Linked DNA regions of Homo sapiens: regions 2 and 3 are each linked to region 1. The links are contacts of gene promoters, found by promoter capture Hi-C in human tissues and cell types (Jung and others, 2019). All regions are on one chromosome and are shown on one strand. The core of a region is centred on a gene start or on the middle of the fragment in contact, and the rest is flanking DNA. Distances in the headings are between cores, read along the strand shown.

Region 1 (3,729 bases), core at 242-2,741:
GTTCACAACCAACGTCACCGCCTCTCTCCACGGAAAAGGCCCTGGCGGCGCTCACAGGCCCCACGGGTCTCCCCACGCACTCGGAACCACCAGGCGCCGGCTGAAAACTTTGCGCCCCTGACTCCAGCTCCTCTGGCCTCCCCCTCCCCCGCGAGGGGCCTGCCTCGGGCAGGACCTTCAGACAGTGAGGGGTGGGCAAGGGGGAAATTCCCGTCCTGGCCAACACCCTTGGGGCCGCGAGGAGTTAGGACCTTCCCTCCCTCCCCGACTCCTCTCCCCTCCAAGCCCGCGGGGGCCTCACCGCTTCGCTTCCACCTTCTCCGTCCGGAGCCGGCCCTGGGGAAGGGAGTCCGGAGGCGCCCGGTGGCCCCCCAAGCCCGCCACTCTCAGAAATTAGAGCGCGGTCCTCCAGCCCCTGCCCTGCACCCCCGCGCGCCCGGCCCACGCCAGGTCCCACCAACAGGGGCGCGCGGGGGCGCATGCCGAGGGAGTCCCGCGCCCCGGGCCCCCACCCTCCCCACGCCCCCCGCCCCCCGCCCCCCGCCGGCCGGGAAGGATATGGGTTGCAGACCAGCCGGAGGCACCAGCTGCGCGGCCGCGTGGTCTGACCGAGGCAGAAGAAGACCGTGGCCGCCAAGGCCGGGTACGGGACGCGCTGCTCCTCGTCGGCACCCAGCTCCGCGCCGCGCTCGGCCGCCGGGCTCTCGGAGGGTGACACGCCGAGCTCGGACCCCCGCTCCGCCTCGCGTCCCGGCGCCCCGGGGCTCTCCGGGGACGCCCCCACCAACGCCGCAGGGCCAGGGGGCGGCGCGCCCAGGGGCACCCGGACCTCGTCGGCGGCCCGTGCGCCCTCGGTCATGGTGGCGGCCGGCAGCACCTGCAGAGGACAGGGGGTGACCCGGGGCCGGTGGCGACGCCCCCGCCCTGCCTCCCGCGGCGCGGAGCTGCGGGAACAGCCGCGGCCGCCGGGATGTCTTTGTCTTTTCTTATTAGAGACAAACGCGCCCCCCGCCCCCGCCCGCCCCCTCCCTCCCTCCAGCGGCCCCACCCCCACCCCGAGGGGCTCCCCGGCCCGCTTCGCGCAAGTTGAAGAGGGTCCCGGGCGCGCGTCCTCGCCGCGTCTCACCTCGCTCTGCTGGCCGGCGGCGTCCCCGCGGGCATCGCCCGGGCGGCGCGGTCACCGCGGACCCCGCTCGGCGCCCGGCCCCGGCCCCGGCCCCCAGCGCCTCCGCCCCCGGCCCCGGCCCCGGCCCCCAGCGCCTCCGCCCCCGGCCCGCGTCCCCAGCCCGCCCGGCTCCCGGCCGCGGCTCGACTCCGGCTCCGGCTCGCCCGGCGGAGGCGACGGCGGCGGCCTCGGCGCGGCGTGGAGGCCGCTGAGCGGACGGGTGAGGCCGGGGCGCGGGGCGCGGGGCGCGGGGCGCGGGCCGGGGACCGGTGAGGCAGCGAGCGAGCCTCGAGCCCGTCCGCGCGCGGCGCAGGAAACTTCGGGCTGAGCGGCGGGGGGCGGGGCGGGGCGGGGCCGGCGCGACCGGGGCGGGGCCAGCGTGGCCGGGGCGGGGCCGGGGGCGGGGCGGGCGGGGGGGTACTGGGGAGGATCCGCCCCCGGCCCGAGACGCGCGCGCCCGAGCGACCCCTCCCTGTCGCCGCCCGGCGCCCCGCCCCCCCCCGGGTGCGGGAAGTTGGACCCCGCCCGCGCCCCCTCCACGCCCCCGCACTGGGCTCCCCGCTTTTCGTGCTCCCCAACAATGCCGGGCGTGGGGTGCACCAGGGGGCGCTCGCGGGAGGCTCCGGCGGGGTGGGAGGGGGAGCACCTACGTCCTTCCCTGCCCCCAACTGCGGGGGCGGCCGAGCCGCCGATGCCGCGCCCCTCCCCCTCCCGCTCCGGCTCCCCCTCCCCCTTCGCGCTGCCGCGCGCGCCGCCGCCGCCCCCACCCCCACCCCCACTACGACGCGGGCCCGGGTCGGCGGAGGGGCGGGGACCGGGCGGGCGTGGAAGGCGAGAGGCTGCGTGCCCCTTCCCCGCCGCGTGTGTGTCCCGGGTGTGCCCGCGCGCGCGTGTGTGATGGGGCGCGGGGGCGGGCGGGGGTGTGCTTTACGGCTGGGCGCTCCTGCACTCGCATCTCTCCCCGACACGCACGGGCAGTTTCCGCGAACTTGTCCTCGTCTCCGGTCCCCTCCCGCGTGGGGATCTGGGGGACCCTGGGGACGGCAGCCTGGTGCTCCTGCATCCTCCAACCCCGCTGCCTCAGCGAGACTCACCCAGGGGCCCCCGAGGAGAAGTGCAGGCCCCTTCCCCCTGCCAGCAGCTGCTCCTTCAGCCAGGCCAGCAGAAGGGCCTTCCCCTGGACCCTCAGAGCAAGTGGTTTGGTCGGGAAGGGGTGGACCCTTCAGACATTGGGGATGGCCAGGCCCTTGTCCCAGGGAGGGCTGGCCGCACCTCGAGGTGCCAGCAGGTGGGGGCAGGTGCCCAGGCTCCTGACTCCCCCCAGGGCACCCCTCCAGGCTGGAAGGGTGGTTTTGCTTCTGGGACCACTGCTTTGTGCACCAGGGAGCTTGAGCTCCCAGGTGTGCACCTCAGCACGCCCGCCAACAAGGGGCCCCTGGTAGTGGGAGAGACCCCTTCTCCCTCCAGACAAAGAGGCCCTGCTCCAGGGCGCACCCTGAGACCCCAGACCCGGAGAGGCTGTGGGGCGGCTGTGGCTTCCCACCTGCGGGTGAGCAGCAGAGAAGCAGGACCTCCCCCGGGTGGGCCACATCGTGCAGGGTGAAGAAGAGGCCCTGCCCAGCTGGGGCCCGGAAGGACACACAGCACCTGGGGTGGGCCGAGGAACTGGAAGGCAGGAGTGTGGGGGCCTGGCTGGGGTACAGGTCCTTTCAGCAGCACCTCCTCCTGTATACGGGAACTTTCAAGAAAAGGAAAACATTCAGTCTATTTTAATGCAACTACTCAGCGATGGAGGGCCACAGCTGGTGAATTAGGCCTTCAAAGGTCCAATTAAGGTTCCAGCCACAGAGGAGCAGGACCTAGGAGAGCCCCGTGCTTTGGACACATCCGTGGAGGGAGGCTGGAGCAGGTGGGGAGACACAAACGCTGAATCGGAGTCCGGTCCAGAGGGCACTTGGAACCTCTGATCTTTTTATCAACACCCTGCTCGTTAAAAGTTAGGGTGGGCCAGGTGCAGTGGCTCACGCCTGTAATCCCAGCACTTTGGGAGGCCGAGGTGTGTGGATCACTTGAGGTCAGGAGTTCGAGACCAGCCTGACCAACATGGTGAAATCCCGTCTCTACTAAAATACAAAAATTAGCCAGGCATGGTGACATATGCCTGTAATCCCCGCTACTCGGGATGCTGAGGGAGGAGAATCACTTGAACCCAGGAGGCAGAGGTTGCAGTGAGCCGAGATCACGCCACTGCACTCCAGCCTGGGTGACAGAGTGGACTCTGCCTCAAAAAAATAATAAGTTAATTAATTAATTAATTAAAGCTAAGGCAAAGCCACAGACTGAAGCTCCAGATTCTAGCTGGGGGCTGTCGTTGATTTGCTGGACAAATGGTAGTTGAGGGTGGACAGTGCGCGGGGCCCGGTTGGAGGGTGGAGGTGCCTTGGCTGTGACCAGACAGACCCGGTTCTCATGCCTGCAGCTTCCGTCTTATGGGGAGGAGAAAACAGTTTCCAAACTAAGTGCCAGGGGGCGCCCAGATAGACGAGGGCGGGGCCTCTGTGAGG
Region 2 (3,705 bases), core at 1-2,500, 290 kb before region 1:
GGGAAGGCAGGTCTTCCCCTAGCACATGGGGACCCCGGCCTCGAGGGTGACCTCCCTACCCCGCCCCTGCCAGCCACCAAGCGCAGGTGCAGCGGGGGCCAGACTCCTGCCGGCCTCAGAGGACACCTGGCCCAGCACAGGCAGCTAGAAGGGCCGGTGGGCACCGGGGCCGGGAAGCCCCCACCTCACCACCTGAGGGCCCCTGGGAGGCTCCTCTGGCCTGGCTGGGCTGGGTCTGGGGCCGCCACAGGCCCCTCACGGGGCGGCAGAGGCAACTTCAGTGTCCCTGTTAGAGCAACACGGGTCCCTCCGTGGGGGGCTGGGTGCGGCCCCCTGCCGTGTATTTCCTCCCCAGGGAGTGGGGCCTCCCCGGGAGCTGACGCCACCACCCTGCTTAGCCCTCACAGGGCCCCAAGGTGTCCGAGTGTGTTGGGTCTGAACGCGAAATAAAGAAATCCTCTCAGCCCGCCTTTGCCAGCGTCGTCCCTCCCACCCCACCCAGACCACGTCCAACAGCCTGGGACTTTCGGGACCCTGGGGTCGGGGCACCGTGTGGAGTGAGAAAGGCGTGAAAGACAGCGGCTGCGGCCACCCAGGGCACCAGCCACATCCTCTTCCTCGTCCCCGCCCCTCAGCCTCCCTCCTCTGGCTCCTGGCTGGTGGGTCTGGGGGCAAGGCAGAGGCGCTCCAGGTGGAGGGGGGCGGGCCGGGGTGCCCACGCTGGGGTGACGCAAGAAGAAAACTCCCGGGCCTCAGAGTCGGCGCCGGAAACCTAGGTCTGGGTTTCCCTCGTGGTGGTTGTGTACTGAGGACCTGGAAGTGATCATATTTTGGATATATTCGGTTAAATAAAATCAGCGGTTAGGATTCACATCGCTGCTTCTTGCCTTTTAATGGGGCTGCTGAGCAAGATGGGTTCCCGTGGAGCCCGGCTGTGCCCCTCACCCCGATGGCGCTGCCCAGGCCTCGGGCTCCGCTCGGACGTGGGCCTGGCTGTGTCCGGGGTGTCCTGGGGCTCTCGGCCTCCCTGCTCCCAGCGTCCCTCCCGGCGTGCCCAGGCCTCGTCAGGGCCTCCTTCCCCTCCCTCGGCAGCTGAAGAAGTCCCCTTTGCCAGAGGACACGTGTCTGCGCCCTCTCGGGAGTGGGGCCCCTCAGATCCATCCAGAAGCAGGCAGTTGGGGGGCCCTGCGGGAGTGGGAGAGCTGAGGGCTAGAGTTCCATTGGCAGTTGGGCTGTGAAGCCGTGAGGTTCTGGGGAGAGAAGGAAGGTTCTGGAACGGCCCCGCTGCCCCACACCTGCCTCCCTGGGGACCCTGAGAAGGCAGCCAGACGAGGGCAGCAGCTCGTCCCTCAAGGCCCAGAGCTCTCACGGGACTTCCTCTGGCTCCTGACCCCCCTGGCCTGTGCCCAGCTCTGGGCAACCTCAGAGGCCCCAAGGCCCAAGCTACAGCCGAGGGCAGGGTGGCCGGTGCAGCCCAGCAGCCATGTCAGGTGACCAGAGCGGAGGAGCGGGGCCCAGGGAGGGGCTTGCCACAGGTGTGAGGGTGGGGACCGCTCTGCTTCTGACCCCGGGCTCCCTCCAGCTCGCTTGTTCCTGCCGCCCAGTGCTGTGTGTCTTCAGGCAGGGCCCTGGACTTGTCTGAGCCAAGCCCGTCTGGATCCTGTGTGACCCAAGGAGACGCGTTGAGCTCTGGGTGGTGGGCGAGGGTCCTGCGGGGGTTTGGGGCCTTGTTCCCGTAAGCTCCAGTGGGGGCCGGGCCCCAAGGGGCAAGCTCCCAAGATGCCTCCTTGTAGAGTTGGCTGACAGTGGACCCTCAGGGGCATCGGCCCCTTCCCAGCTGAGAGCCGTCACCCTGGAAGACCTGGGGCTCCTCCTGGCAGGAGGCCTGGCCAGCCCCGAGCCCTTGAGCCTGGAGGAGCTCTCGGAGAGGTATGAGTCCAGCCATCCGACATCCACGGCCTCTGTCCCCGAGCAGGACACCGCCAAGCACTGGAACCAGCTGGAGCAGTGGTGAGCCCTGCAGGGGGTGCTGGCGGGGGAGGACCACGTCGCCGCCGCCTCCGCCTCCACGGCGGGCACCGCCAGACTCGCCCACTCTCGCCCCGGCCAGGGTGGTGGAGCTGCAGGCCGAGGTGGCCTGCCTGCGGGAGCACAAGCAGCGCTGTGAGCGCGCCACGCGGAGCCTGCTGCGGGAGCTGCTCCAGGTGCGGGCCCGCGTGCAGCTGCAGGGCTCAGAGCTGAGGCAGTTGCAGCAGGAGGCGCGGCCGGCAGCCCAGGCCCCCGAAAAGGAGGCGCCGGAGGTGAGCGGCTCCCCCACCCACAGGTCGAGCTGCCCCTTTCCTGGGTGTTGGGGGCAGCTGCTTCTGGGCCTGGAGCCCAGCTCACCCCTGCTGCCCAGGCCCAGAGCTCCCAGGGGCCAGTGGTGCCGGAGCTGGGTGGACTCCAGGGGCAGGTGCCAGACCCGGGCCTAGGTCCAGCCCACAGCCTCCTCTTCCTCCTCGCAGTTCTCTGGTCTCCAGAACCAGATGCAGGCCCTGGACAAAAGGTACCCCCCACACACCTAGGGGCACAGGCCCAGGGCGGGGAGGTGGTGGCGAGAAAGCAGCGGCAGGTGTGGTGGGGGGTCCACATCTCCCGCTGGGTGTCGCTGGAGTGGGGGATACACATCCAGGTCCAGCTAGAAAAGGCCGGGTTTGTACGTGCCTGGGCGGCCTTCAGAGGCCCAGGAAAGCCATGGGAGGTGGCCACAGGGGCCCCTTGGCCAGACCCCCAGCCCGCCGAGGCTGCTCAGCCCGCCTGGGCCTCTCGGGAATGGCTTGTTGTGTCCCAGGCTGGTGGAGGTCCGGGAAGCCTTGACCCGGCTCAGGAGGAGGCAGGTGCAACAGGAGGCGGAGAGAAGGGGCGCCGAGCAAGAGGCCGGCCTCAGGTGGGCGCCCACCGCCCGTGGCTGGCTCCGGAGCTTGCGTGGGGTCATTTGAGAGTCCCTGGCTGAGCCAAGACACGGGTCCCCCTGCCGTGTGTCCCCAGTAACCCGGCGGGGCACCGCCCTCGGTGCCAAGCGTGCTGGGAAGCCTGGGCCCGCTGCGGACCCTCTGTGGGGAAGAGACTCGCAGCAGCCCTTCCCTGCCACCGGTGCTGTGTTTCCCATTCCTCTGTTTTCTGGTGGGGCAGGGGGCGGGGGTCGTACACCTCCTGCCTGGCCAGCCTGTGGGTCAGCCTCACCCTGCTGGGCCCTCCGGCCAGCTGGGCTGGTGTGACCACAGCCGACTTCTCTAGACTGGCCAAGCTGACCGACTTGCTGCAGCAGGAGGAGCAGGGCCGGGAGGTGGCCTGCGGCGCCCTGCAGAAGAACCAAGAGGACAGCAGCCGGAGGGTGGACCTGGAGGTGGCCAGAATGCAGGTACCACCAGGCCCAGGCTTCAGGGGGGCCGCCCAGAGGGCCGAGGAGGAGACCCTAACCCTCTCGGCCTGTGCCATCCGATACAGCGGCCGTTCACCATGTATCTGTGTCCACTGAAATCAGCTATAGTTGTAGACAATGTAAAACTCAATTCCTCAGCCGCACATGCCCCATTTCAAAAGTTCAGGTTGTTTGGGCACGGTGGCTCACGCCTGTAATCCCAGCACTTTGGGAGGCTGAGGCGGGCAGATCACAAGGTCAGGAGTTCAAGACCAGCCTGGCCAACATGGTGAAACCCCATCTCT
Region 3 (3,772 bases), core at 837-3,336, 320 kb after region 1:
ACGTGGCCACAAGCCGAGGAACACCTGAAGCCCCTGGGAGCTGGAAAGGGCAGGAGGACCCTCCCCTGGAGTCTCCAGTGGGAACACAGCCCTGCCGAAGCCTTGATCTCAGACTTCTGGCCTCCAGGACAGTGGGGGTGGGTTTCTGTTGCTTTAAGCCCCCGAGTTTGCTACAGCAGCCCAGTCCCCGAACCTTCCTGACGGCCGCGCCCAGTCCCCGTGCCCTCCTGACAGCCGCGCGGCCACACTGGGACGGATCCATCTTCCCAGGCCTCGTCTGGCTCTTCCCATCAGCCTCGGGGCCCAGCTGCCCCTCAGACGCTCAGTCAAGACTCATCTTTGGTCTCAGGGCTGCTCAAAACACAAAGTCAAAAGCACAAACAACTCCCCTCTAGGAATGTAAATTTTATAACTTAGAAGAAATGGACCAATTCCTTAAAAACCACAACAAAAACTCACCCAAAATGTAACTGATAACGAACAGCCCTTCAGCTATTAAAGAAATTAAATCTGTAAAGATATGAAAAGGAAGCATCCGGCTGGACGCGGTGGCTCATGCCTGTAATCCCAGCACTGTGGGAGGCCAAGGCAGGTGGATTACCTGAGGTTGGGAGTTCAAGACCAGCCTGACCAACATGGAGAACCCCATCTCTACTAAAAATACAAAAATTAGCCGGGCATGGTGGCGTATGCCTGTAATTCCAGCTACTCGGGAGGCTGAGGCAGGAGAATCACTTGAACCTGGGAGGTGGAGGTTGTGGTGAGCCCAGATCATGCCATTGCACTCCAGCCTAGGCAACAAGAGCGAAACTCTGTCTCAAAAAAAAAAAAAAAGAAAAGAAAAATAAATAAAAGTAAACGTCCAAGCAAAGATGGTTTGACTGAATCCACCAAACCTTAATAAAAGAAATAACACCAATTCTACACAACCTCTTCCAAAAAACAGAAGAGGAGGAAACACTTCCCAGTGTGTTTCATCAGGCCAGCATTACCGTAATACTAAAACCAGAAAAAGACAGTACAAGAAAAGAAAACCAGAGGGGTGCAGTGGCTCACGTCTATAATCCCAGCACTTTGGGAGGCCGAGGCAGGCGGATCATGAGGTCAGGAGATTGACACCATCCTAGCTAACACAGTGAAACCCCGTCTCTACTAAAAATACAAAAAATTAGCTAGGCGTGGTGGTGGACACCTGTAGTCCCAGCTACCTGAGAGGCTGAGTCAGGAGAGTCACTCAAACCGGGAGGCGGAGGTTGCAGTGAACCGAGATCACACCACTGCACTCCAACCTGGGTGACAGAGCGAGACTCCATCTCAAAAAAAAAAAAAAAGAAAAGAAAAGAAAAGAAAAGAAAAAACCACAGGCCGGACACAGTGGTTCACACCTGTAATCCCAGCACTTTGGGAGGCCAAGGTGGGTAGATCACTTGAGGCCAGGAGTTCGAGACCAGCCTGGCCAACATGGCAAAACCTTGTCTCTGCTAAAAACAAAAAATGAGCCAGGTGTGGTGGTGTGCACCTGTAATCCCAGCTACTCGGGAGGCTGAGGCACAAGAATCATTTGAACCCAGGAGGCAGAGGTTGCAGTGAGCCAAGATCACACCACTACACTCCCAGCATGAGTGACAGAGTGAAACTGTCTCAAAAAAAAAAAAAAAAAAAAAAAAAAAAAGAGTCCAAGCACAGTGGCTCACACCTGTAATCCCAGCACTTTGGGAGGCTGAGGCAGGTGGATCATGAGGTCAGGAGATCGAGACCACCCTGGCTAACATGGTGAAACCCCGTCTCTACTAAAAATAGAAAAAATTAGCCAGGCATGTTGGCAGACGCCTATATTCCCAGCTACCCGGGAGGCTGAGGCAGGAGAATTGCTTGAACCCAGGAGATGGACATTGCAGTGAGCTGAGATCTCACCACTGCACTCTGGCCTGGGCGACAGAGCAAGACTCTTGTCTCAAAAAAAAAAAGAAAGAAAGAAAACAAAGCCAAACCGCAGACCAATATACCTCATGAATATAGACAGAAAACAAAACCTCAGCAAGATATTAGCAAATTGGTAATATCAGAAATATGTAAAAAGAATTAGACACCATGCTCAACTGGACTGTGGATTATATTCCATGATGAGGAATGCAAGGTTGGTTCAATCTGAAAACCAATCAGCCAGGCACGGTGGCTCACATCTGTAATCCCAGCACTTTGGGAGGCCAAGGCAGGTGGATCACTTGAGGTGAGGAGTTTGTGACCAGCCTGGCCAACATGGTGAAACCCCATCTCTACTAAAAATACAAAAAATGAGCCGGTCATGGTGGCAAGCACCTGTAATCCCAGCTACTCAGGAGGCTGAGGCAGGAGAATCACTTGAACACAGGAGGTGGAGGCTGCAGTAAGCGAAGATCATGCCACTGTACTCCAGCCTGGGCAACGATTGTGAAACTCCATCAAAAAAAGAAAAAACAAAAACAAAAAGCAAATCAACCAATTAAAACACTAAGAAAAACCATATGATTGTATCTCTGATAGATACAGGAAAAAACATTAGACAAAATTCAACACTATTCATAATAGAAACTCAGCAAATTAAGAAGAGAAGGAAACTTCTTCAGCCTAATAAAAGGCATCTACAGAATCCATAGCCCTCATACTATTTAATGGGGAAAAACCGAAAGCTTCACTGTAAGATCAAGCACAGGACAAGGACAGCCACTCCCACTGTTTCTATTCCATATCACACTAGACTTGCTAGCCAGAGTAATAAGGCAAGAAAAAAGAAAGCAACATGGATGCCGCCAAAGGCACTGACGGAGTGAAAGTTTACACCAAGTTTCAGAATTGGAGAAACTAACCTATCCTGAAACACACATGAGGACAACGGTTCCCTCTGTGGGGGGGGTTACCTGGGGAGAGGCATGAGGAATGTTCAGGGTGTTGTTCTGTCTTGACCAAGGAGTGTTCTGTCTTGACCGAGCTGTGGGTTACTGGTGTCACATTTGTTAAAACTCATCCAGTTATAACCTAAAATATGTGCATTTTATGTTAGCGGTTGAGGACTCACCACTGCAAACCCTGCAGGCTCCATTTGGGGAGGCCCCCCTACATGTGGCTACTGTGCCCATAGCTGCCCAAGCAAAGGCCCCACGAGGACCTGGGCCTGTTGGTGCAGAGCCCTGTGAAGCGGAGGCTGCACCCCCAATAGGGCAATACCCAGCACCACCCCCATTACAGACCTTCCAGACCACCCTAGCATGTTCTCACACATGCTCAAAGAGAAAAGGCATCTCTCATCTTCGAGTGTTCCCTGTTCACCCTCTTTCCTTAATTTGCCTTACATGGTCACCCCTGAAAAGCCCCTTCTGAGCTATCCTTCCCTCCAGGTCCCAGAGATGCACAGCTAGGCACCCACAGGCCGCAGGCAGCTCCCGCCCAGATGATCCTCGGTGCTCCAGCACAGGGCCTCAGGCTGAGGTGTGGGGAGAAGTGTCCAGCCATGCAGCTGTGTGGCTGGTAACTCACCCCACTATTCCCAGGGGCTCAGAAGGGGACAGACGGTCTCAAGAGACAGGTCGGCCATCGCTGCACAGTGGGGGAGGCCACAGCTCTGTGTCCCAGACAAACGCCCAGCACGAAGGTCACACAGCCACCTCACTTGGGCGGGGGGTCGGGGGGGGGGGTCATGCCCAGAAGCAGCCCCTGTGTCTGGCCCAGCCCCTGGCCTGGCCTGGGGTCTGCAGAGCAGGCAGATGCCCTCCCCCTCCCCTTCAGGCCCATCACT

What was found. Contacts are between HindIII fragments. The study calls those that stand out against the background at their distance.
Region 2: the fragment with the promoter of CCDC154 here is called in contact with the fragment with the promoter of CACNA1H in region 1 in 1 of the 25 tissues and cell types used here (pancreas).
Region 3: a contact is called between a fragment that was not itself captured here and the fragment with the promoter of CACNA1H in region 1, in 1 of the 25 tissues and cell types used here (lymphoblastoid cells).

The regions. Positions count from the first base shown.
Region 1 is chr16:1,150,868-1,154,596 of GRCh38, reverse strand. CACNA1H (calcium voltage-gated channel subunit alpha1 H) reads right to left here and starts at 1,491. Exons shown (of 35, transcript NM_021098.3): 1 at 1,127-1,491; 2 at 561-877. The coding sequence starts at 859. RefSeq lists enhancers at 1-637, 2,012-2,592. The HindIII fragment of the contact is 19,639 bases long and covers 1-3,729 here.
Region 2 is chr16:1,442,101-1,445,805 of GRCh38, reverse strand. CCDC154 (coiled-coil domain containing 154) reads left to right here and starts at 1,250. Exons shown (of 17, transcript NM_001143980.3): 1 at 1,250-1,490; 2 at 1,794-2,010; 3 at 2,111-2,300; 4 at 2,505-2,545; 5 at 2,831-2,926; 6 at 3,277-3,400. The coding sequence starts at 1,484. CLCN7 (chloride voltage-gated channel 7) reads left to right here. Exons shown (of 25, transcript NM_001287.6): 25 at 1-871. The HindIII fragment of the contact is 26,646 bases long and covers 1-3,705 here.
Region 3 is chr16:835,403-839,174 of GRCh38, reverse strand. No RefSeq gene overlaps it. Among named protein-coding and RNA genes, the nearest start is that of GNG13, 37 kb to the right of the region's middle. The HindIII fragment of the contact is 6,474 bases long and covers 1-3,772 here.